3 separate regions of the Homo sapiens genome follow, and regions 1 and 2 are each linked to region 3. The links are contacts of gene promoters, found by promoter capture Hi-C in human tissues and cell types (Jung and others, 2019). All regions are on one chromosome and are shown on one strand. Each heading gives the region's core, a stretch centred on a gene start or on the middle of the fragment in contact. The rest is flanking DNA. Distances are from core to core; before and after follow the strand shown.

Region 1 (2,966 bases), core at 312-2,811, 55 kb before region 3:
TCAGATGGGAACTTGTCAGAAATGCACATCCTCAAGCCCTGCTGCAGACCTGCTGAATCAGAAACACTAGCTAGGGTTTTGCTTTTGAGATGGTCAAGGTAGAAGTCAGCTGCATCACCAGTTCTCAAATTGGCCTGCATATTGGAATTATCTAGAAACTAAAAAACAAACAAAACACAAAAACTAATTCCTCGAAGATTCTGATATAATTGGTCTGGATGTAGCCTGAGCATCAGGATTTGTGAAATCTCCTGGGTGATTCTAATGTGTAGCCAGGATTGAGAAGCACTGAGATGATTTCCAAACAGGTGGTAGAGCCCTGCACCGTGCAGGACATTGCTAACCATGTTGTGTCAAAGCAGGTCCTGGGAAGAGAGGTCTACACATCCAACAACCAGCTGGGTGGCGTTCAGATCATGCATTACAATGGTGTCTCCCACATCACCGTGCCAGATGACTTTGAGGGGGTTTATACCATCCTGGAGTGGCTGTCCTATATGCCAAAGGTGCAGTACTCCCCCTGCAGCTTAGAACCTGGAAGACTCTTATTAAGCTCATTGGCTAATTCTGTCCCTGTCACCTCCTGGGTGGTGTGGGAGGCTGAGGAGCAGGAAGCACTGCACATGTGGCTGGGGTTGATTTTTCTTACTCCTTCTTCCTTCTCTGATGCCCAGCCCTGTACTAGGTGTCCTTTGCTCTTTTGGTGGCACTAATGCCATTGTAAGGATGCTATCTGTTAATCCTTTAGAAAGAGGTAGTATTGCCTCTTGACAAGAGGCAGCATTGGACAATACTGAGTCTTTAAGCTTTACAGTCAGGCTGGATTTGATTCCTGCCTTCCTCCTCGGTAGCTGTAAGACACTGGGAGAGTCCCTAAGTTTTTCTGAGCCTGTTTCCTCATCTGTGAAATGAGAATAATAATAGCACCTAACTCATGGTGTTATCATGATGATTAAGTGAAGTGATATTTAAAGCACAACGTTTGGTAGGTCCTCACCAAAGTAAGAAGGGGACAATCGTGGGCACAGTTCTTGGTTAACTGTAACATTCCTTACAAATGAGTGAGGTTGTCATTCTTCATTATAACCATTTCTGAGAGGTTGGGTTTACAGAGTTCAGGTCATTCCAGATCTTCTGCCAAGAACCCCAAGTCACAAATGTCAGTTTGTATTCCCAAGTGCCCCTTTTCCCCATCTGCATGCCATCTGTTACCATTCTCTGCAACCAATCTCTTTTTCTTTCTTTTAAGATGTTTTTCCTCCTATCTGACCATATATAGCAGTAGCAACCCTTTCCTGCGTTTCTGTAACTTCCCAGCATCAGTGACACCATCTGAACCGGGAAGCACACTCAGGAGTTCATAAACTAGATTTCAGAAGAATCCATGGGATGGCCAGTCCTTATCTGGCATTTTCCAATCAGAGCAGTGGCTTCAGGAGCCCTAGGGAGGGGATATTGCTGCATAACCAGGCATAATCATAGTCAGAGGAGCAAAGTGCTGATCAGAGGTATTATTGACAAGCACCACAGACTAAGTCAGAGACTTGGCTTTCTTTTTTAGGATAATCACAGCCCTGTCCCTATCATCACACCCACTGACCCCATTGACAGAGAAATTGAATTCCTCCCATCCAGAGCTCCCTACGACCCCCGGTGGATGCTTGCAGGAAGGCCTCACCCAAGTAAGTTCTAAAGTATTTTGCCTAGGACCTGGTCTCGGGTTTCTTTCTAGGGCTTGAGACAAAGGAGCACTTTGTCTCAAGCGCTTGAGACAAAGGCTTGATATTCGTTCTCATATCCCAGAGAGGTATACCTGAAATCAAATGCAGGGAAAGTAGAGAAATGGAGATTTTACTCTAGGCTTTTCCTGAGCCATTGACCAAGAAGGGGTGGAAACAGCCTCCAGTTTCTGGAGCTAATAGATGGAGGTGGGGTGCAATGGTGGTCCTGGTCTCCCTCCCCTGATGCTCCATGCTCCGTGGTCTCTAACTGCCCCACTGTCTCATCAGTAGAAAATTCAGTGCTGAAACATCAGAGTTTCAAAGAGAAGACTGCATCTTTCTCTTTCTTTCTCTCTTACAAAGGAACTCTGTGAGTTTACACAGGATAGGCAATCTGGTCTCCTCTTCTTTTTTTTTTTTTGAGACAGTGTTGCTCTGTCGCCCAGGCTGGAGTGCAGTGGCGCGATCTTGGCTTACTGCAATCTCTACCTCCTGGGTTCAAGTGATTCTCCTGACTCAGTCTACCGAGTAGCTGGGATTACAGGTGCCTGCCACCACACCCAGCTAATTTTTGTATTTTTAGTAGAGGCGGAGTTTCACCATGTTGGCCAGGCTGGTCTTGAACACATGACCTCAAGTGATCTGCCTGCCTCAGCCTCCCAAAGTGCTGGAATTACAGACATGAGCCACCATGCCTGGCCAATTTTACCTCTTCTATACCTACACACACACACACACACACACGCACGTGGACACGTGAACACACATGCACATGCACACACATTTTTGCACACACACATTCTCTCTCTGAAAGGGATGAGTTTCTCTCTTGGAGGTATATTATTTCAGTCTGAGCAACCAGAACACAACAGGAAAGTTGAGCTGCTCCCGTCACTATATCCCAAATCTAGAATTTCACATGCTGCTACCTTTAGACTTGGCTGCTCCTTGGCTGTGCAATGCAGGAGAGGTGACCCTCGGGAGTGTGCTAGACTCCAGCCAGTGCAAGGAGTCCTGTGGCTTCCTTCTCTTGCTTTTCATTTCTCTTGGGCTTTCTGGCCTGTAAACACTGAGGGGGCTGCTTATCTCAATTAAAAAATGTTCGGCTTCTCACTGTCAGGCCAGTCCTCGGCAGATGCTGAAGCTGTGCTGTTGCATGCCTGGGTGCCGGGCCTCCCATGCCTGAGATGCCTCTTACTCTGGCTGCCCCCTCCTGGTCAGAGCCACAGCCATTTACGCTGTTGC
Region 2 (2,940 bases), core at 218-2,717, 43 kb after region 3:
CTGCCGCCATGTGAGGCATGGCTTTCACCTTCCACCGAGGTTGTAAGGCCTCCCCAGCCACGTGGAACTGTGAGTGCATGGAACCTCTTTCCTTTGTAAATTGCCCAGTCTCAAGTATGTCTTTATTAGCAGCGTGAAAACGAACTAATAAAGCTCCCTGTCAGATAATGAGGAAGAGACTCATGGCTTATATCCATGTTCATTCAATATTTATAGAAGGTGGCTTCTACTGTTTCAGATGAGCACTTTTCCATGGTTCAAATATGTTTTCCTGACTTTATAACACATCAAAGAATCAAAGTGATATAGGTAATTTAAAAAAGATTTTTATTTTAAAATAATGATAGACTCACAAGAAGTAACAAAAATAATACAGAGAGGTCTCAAATATCCCTCAATCGTTACATCTTACATAATTAGAGCACAATATCTAAACCAGGACAAATAATGCTGGTACAATGTGCATATACAGTTACATGCCATTTTGTTACATCTGTAGATTTATGGAACAACCACCATCAGTAATTATTTTTACCCTGAGTGTCATAAGTGCTAATTAATTAAGCTCATTAAGCCTTGAATAGACTCATTCTCATGTTCCATTAGTAGGCAGGTTCACTAGAAGATGGGTGAAGTGGTGTACAAGTAATATGTTGGGTTCAGCACATAACTGGGTTAGATAAATTGCTTCCTGGATCTTATTTCAGAGACCTTTATTTTTAATTTTGCAACTGATCTTACTATCACTGATTTTCACATCAAAGCTTGAATTTAAACCTGGCCAGGATGTTTTTATATTATTACCGTAAAAACTCTTATGCCAGGTAAAAATATGAACACTTTCCTCCCATCAGCCTCTACTATCTTACCTTATCTTTTGACTAACAAAATAAACATTTTATATCAAAACCGTGGGGGGAAAAAGCCAAATCACACAGTTTCACCGCAGACACTTATGACAATATTTTAAGGTAACTTCCTAATTAACCATCTTTTTATTGGTATCTGTTTAAAAGCCATCTAAAAGATTAGACATTGTGTCCAGAACTGGTGCCTTGTTCACTGCTCCTGTAATTGCGTTATATTTCTAAAGAGATTGTAAATTCCTGGGGACCAGGTACCTTCTATAATGCCTTGCACACAGTAGATGCTCAGAAAATATTTGCTGATTGGTTGTTCAGCTGCTGGGTTCACTTGAAAAATAAGAAGAAAGCCCCCATGGCTAGGATGATTGCAATCACATTTATGTCCCTGTTAGAGTCACTCAAATTTCCAGTGTCATCATTTGCTTCTTAAGCCGAAAACACGGATTCTGGAGTAAATGTTTCTAATAGTAGTTTTTGCAGATGCCACAAAATTATTTCATTTAGTCTCTGCTTGGTAAAAGCACCATCTAATGTGGAAGATTCCACGGTGGTTGGAGATGCTGCTTCAAATTACTGCATGCTTTTACTCATCGCTGTCATATGTAGAAAAGGAAACTCTATTTTCCCTTCCACGCTATTTTCTAGACATTCAGGATTCCATAAGATATGCTTTGCTCTCTTTGCTTCAGAATGTAACTTTTACTAGTGAGTGGGACAAGAAGTTTCTCTCAATACAGTCCAGAAGATGAAGCCTTTTTTCTCTTTTGGGGAATGGATTCCTTGTCGTCACATAAGCCTGGCTCTGTTCATAATACCACTTTTATTTTTTTCCATAAAAATAGCTTTTTAATTACATAAATGATAAATGACCATTGTAGAAAGGATCTTTTAAACGGTATAGGAAATTGTAAGAAAATGACAATGATTTGAAATTCTGCCAGCCCTGGCTAACAACGGCATGCTGAGGCCCATGCATCTTGCATTTCTTCGTGTGCATGAGCATATTCAGCCCTCATCTCTCACCTCCCACTCTCCACCTCCTTCCCCCAGGGTCTTTATGTAATTGTCTCCATGGTCATAGAAACATATGGGGCTATTTGGGTAGCTACCCACATACATACATGAATGTATTTTCATCATTGTTTATTCTACGAAACTAGAATCCTTATTACATACACTTTTGCTACATCTTGCGTGTCTCGTTATAGACATCTCTTGAGCCTTTTAGCATAGATCTAACAGATTATTTTTCTCCCCGACATGTATGATGAAGTGTGTTAAACATACAGAAAAGAAGAAATTGTACAGAAAACACCCACTACCTAGATTCTACCATTAACCTATTACTTATGCTTATTTTTCATCTATCTATCCCTGTAACCACTAATGTATCTTATTTTGGGGGGATAGATTTCAAAGAAAGTTGCAGACATCAGCATACTTCCCCTAAATGCTTTGCACACCTGCCATTAGCTCGTGTTCAGTGTTTTTTCTTTCGAGGTAAATAGTATATACAATCTAAAGCACTAACCTTGGATATTTCATTTGGTAAGTTTTGATGAAGGTATATACCTGTGTGACCCAAATCCCTATTGAGACACAGCCCCACTATTACCTCAAAAGGTGTTCTCATGCCCCCACCCAATATAATACCAGTTTTAGTAGAGTCTTCAAGTGGTAACATTTGTTGATGAAAATAATTTTAGTCCTTAATATTAATACTATAATCAAGGGTACTTGCCCCAAATACTCATAAACAATATTATTGTGAGGCTGGGCACAGTGGCTCATGCCTGTAATCCCAGCATTTTGGGAGGCCGAAGTGGATGGATCACCTGAGGTCAGGAGTTTGAGACCAGCCTGGCCAACACGGTGAAACTCCATCACTACTAAAGACAAAAATTAGCCGGGTATGGTGGTACACACCTGTAATCCCAGCTACTCAGGAGGCTGACGCAGGAAAATCGCTTGAACCCGGGAGGCGGAGGTTGCAGTGAGCCGATATTGCGCCATTGCACTCCAGCCTGGGTGACAGAGCGAGACTCCGTCTCAAAAAAAAAAAAAAAAAAAAAAA
Region 3 (2,923 bases), core at 250-2,749:
AATGTCACACAGCCTGGCTGAGAACTTAGCATATCTGACTACTTTCTTAACATCTGTGGAGGATAGAACCCAATTCCTCCCAGAAGGTTTTTTTTTGGCAGGGGGTGGGGGAGCATTTCCCACAGCCCCCATTAAGGCCACTGGAGGGGAAGCAGTAGCTGCTATTGTCATCTTAACATTCACCAGGATGCCCAAACAGTATCAAATGCAGAAACGGACCTCTTTTGGAGGGGACAAGAGACAGCAGGCATTTCGTGGTCCCACTGGGCCAGGTTGTGGCCCAGACACCCTTAGCAAGACCAACATTGAAATCAAGACTTTCCAGCTCTCCCGCAAAAATCACAGAATTGAACATAACAATAGTTCTTGGGCAGTTTCAGAAACCATAAACAGCATACAAACACTTTGAGCAATTAAAAAATATATAGTTTGTTATTGTTGGAGCCCTCACCTGTATTCCTGTGGAGAGGGGTGGTGATTTTGCCCTGAGTTTCGAATAATTCCTGACATTATGGATGAGGTGTCACTTTCTATCATCTCCTTGGGAAAAGACAAGCAGAAAACAAAGCTCCCATCAGCGACGATATGGACAGGGCAGAAACCCACAGTTTTCCCGCAATTCAGAAAGATGGAGCACAATCAACTCACAGAACACTTTTTTTTTCTTTAAAGAAAAAAGTTCTAGAGGATTCCTGGGCATCTCAGGTCACTTTCCCAGGGCAATTCTACAGCGTTTTAGAAACAAATGAAGAGAATGAAATGAAATTCCCGGTTCTTTCGAATTAATGGGGGAAGAGCAAGGGAAGCTCTAGAATCCAAATGTCAAACCTGGAAAATGTGGACTCACAAAATAGGAATCAGAAAAACGATTTCCTTCCAAGCCTTATATTTTCAACCTCAGTTTGGTTATGATCACTTTCAAAATAAGGGGCAGCTGGATGTGACATGTGTATTTCTCTGGGGGAACAAATTCCCACTTGCAAAGGGAATAATCCCCGCAAGCTCCTGCCCTGAAATGCCTTCAGAAATGCCACAAGCCCTTACTGGAAAACCAATCCAACCACCCACGTCCCCGCAACACACAAACACTGCCTTAAAAAAATAATAAAAATATTTGAGTTCCCTAAGTTTCTCAAACTCCAAGCCTGAACCAACATAAAAGCCCACCAAAGCCTCAGTTCCGCCCCCAAAGCCATCGAAGGATTCCCAGGAAGGAGGAAAAGGGAGCAGAGGGAGGCGGCCCCGCAGCCCCTGCGCCCGGGTCTCTACCCTGGAAATGCAATGCCCGGCATTGCCCGGGAGGAGGGAGCAAAGCCGACCCTGCAAGGCGGTACCTGGAGCCGATCCTCGCGGGGCCGCCGCTGCCGGCGCTCCGGGGGTGGGCAGGGGTTCCGGAGGGGGGCTCCCTCGCGCTCGCCCCTCGCGTTCCGCAATTTGGCCGCCGTCGCAGCTCGAACCGTTTTTAAATTTCCCTCTCTGGAGCTGTCCAGCTCAGAGCATGCGCAGTAGCCGTGCGGGGGGCTTTTCCCCAAGGGTCAGTTACAGGGCAGGGTCAAGGGGATTGCAGCGGGCGTTTCCCAGCAGCCGCGAGCCTTGCACGCCCCGGGGTTCTGGGGGGGGGGTGTGTGTGAGGGGGGCGGGGCGGAGGAGTGCAGGGGTAGGGACCCCTCTTCAAACTTTGCCAACAGTGACAACAACTGCATGCCCGAGAGCATGCGTTGAGGAGCAGTGGGAGGGTGATTTCGGCCAAGGGAATTAAGTTGCAAAAGGAGGCTGGGTGCATTAAAACTTGCAATCCCGCCTGGGGCAAAGGACGTGGGCGGGCGGAGAGATCTGTTGCAACCCCCTCTCTCCCCCAAAGTGGAGGACGGGCCGGGAGGCAGAGACGGGGCCCCAGGTGGACGCGGATTCGGTCCACCTGTCCCTTTAAGAAAGTTGCGCCCGCGCGGGCTGGCGCGCAGCGGGAGGGGGCTGCGGAGCGGGGCGCGGGGCGCCTCCACCTGCTGGGGCCGCGAGGGGGGGCCCGGGCCCAGCGCGGCGGCGAGGCGAGGAGGGCTCCCCGGGACTGCGCGCTGCGCCCCCCTGTCCCGCGAGGAGGGTGAGCCCGCCCGGAGCGAGTGCGGCGGGGCTCGGCGGCCCCGGCAGCCGCGACGACGGCGACGGCGGTGGCGGTGGCGGTGGCGGCGGCGGCGGAGGCGGAGGCTGCGGCGTTCGGGGTACGGCGCCGCGAGCCCAGCGCAGCCGTTGGGGGCAGTGGCCCGCGTGTGCAACCGCGCTCCCTCCCTTCCCCGCCGCCCGGCCCGCGCCGCCGCTGCCCCGCCCCGCCTGGAGCCAGCCGCGGGAAAGGTGGCGCGGACCGCGGACGGCGGCGGGGCCCAGAGCGGGCAGAGGTCTCCACAGGCCCCTTAGGAGGCTTGGATGAGTTTGGTCCCCTGGAAAGTTTGCGTTTCTGGCGCCCTAACTCTCAAGCCTCCGTTGCAGTAATTGCCACGGCAGCAACGATATTAGGCACGGCTACCCCCATTCTTTCGTTACTTATTGACGCCTGCTTCTGGGTTCTTCTTCGCATCAGCCCTTGATGACATAGCATGGTCCTCCTTTTGCATGGGGGGAACCCAAAGCCCCGAGCGGCAGTGAGTGGGTCGGCGGCGCACGGGCAGAGCGCGGGCTCCCGCACCTCCCCAGCTCGCGTACTGCACGTGGACCTCTGCGCCGCCCCCACCGAGTGAGGCTCAGGCACCCGAAGCGTCTGGAGTTGTTTTGAGGCTGTCCTCGCGTTATCTACTTCGCAGCAGGCAGGGGACCAGTGTCCCCGCACCTGTGACTGTTTTTTTTTTTTTAAACCCAGTGTTTAAGTTCAGGAAGAACTCAGGGCTCCCCTGGACTGGGTGTGCCTGGATTTCAAGTTCTATTCAGGTGGGCT

The links. The method cuts DNA at HindIII sites, captures the fragments that hold promoters and counts their contacts. A contact is called where the count stands out against the background at its distance.
Region 1: a contact is called between a fragment that was not itself captured here and the fragment with the promoter of FOXN4 in region 3, in 1 of the 25 tissues and cell types used here (hippocampus).
Region 2: a fragment that was not itself captured here is called in contact with the fragment with the promoter of FOXN4 in region 3 in 2 of the 25 tissues and cell types used here (bladder and liver).

What each region holds. Positions count from the first base shown.
Region 1 is chr12:109,252,653-109,255,618 of GRCh38, forward strand. It overlaps ACACB (acetyl-CoA carboxylase beta), which reads left to right. Exons shown (of 53, transcript NM_001093.4): 43 at 363-506; 44 at 1,562-1,682. Among named protein-coding and RNA genes, the nearest start is that of FOXN4, 55 kb to the right of the region's middle. The HindIII fragment of the contact is 6,394 bases long and covers 1-2,966 here.
Region 2 is chr12:109,350,477-109,353,416 of GRCh38, forward strand. All of the region lies in intron 1 of MYO1H (myosin IH), which reads left to right. Among named protein-coding and RNA genes, the nearest start is that of MYO1H, 4.0 kb to the left of the region's middle. The HindIII fragment of the contact is 3,824 bases long and covers 1-2,940 here.
Region 3 is chr12:109,307,785-109,310,707 of GRCh38, forward strand. It overlaps FOXN4 (forkhead box N4), which reads right to left and starts at 1,500. Exons shown (of 10, transcript NM_213596.3): 1 at 1,335-1,500; 2 at 452-540. The coding sequence starts at 537. It also overlaps a transcript of MYO1H not described here. The HindIII fragment of the contact is 10,264 bases long and covers 1-2,923 here.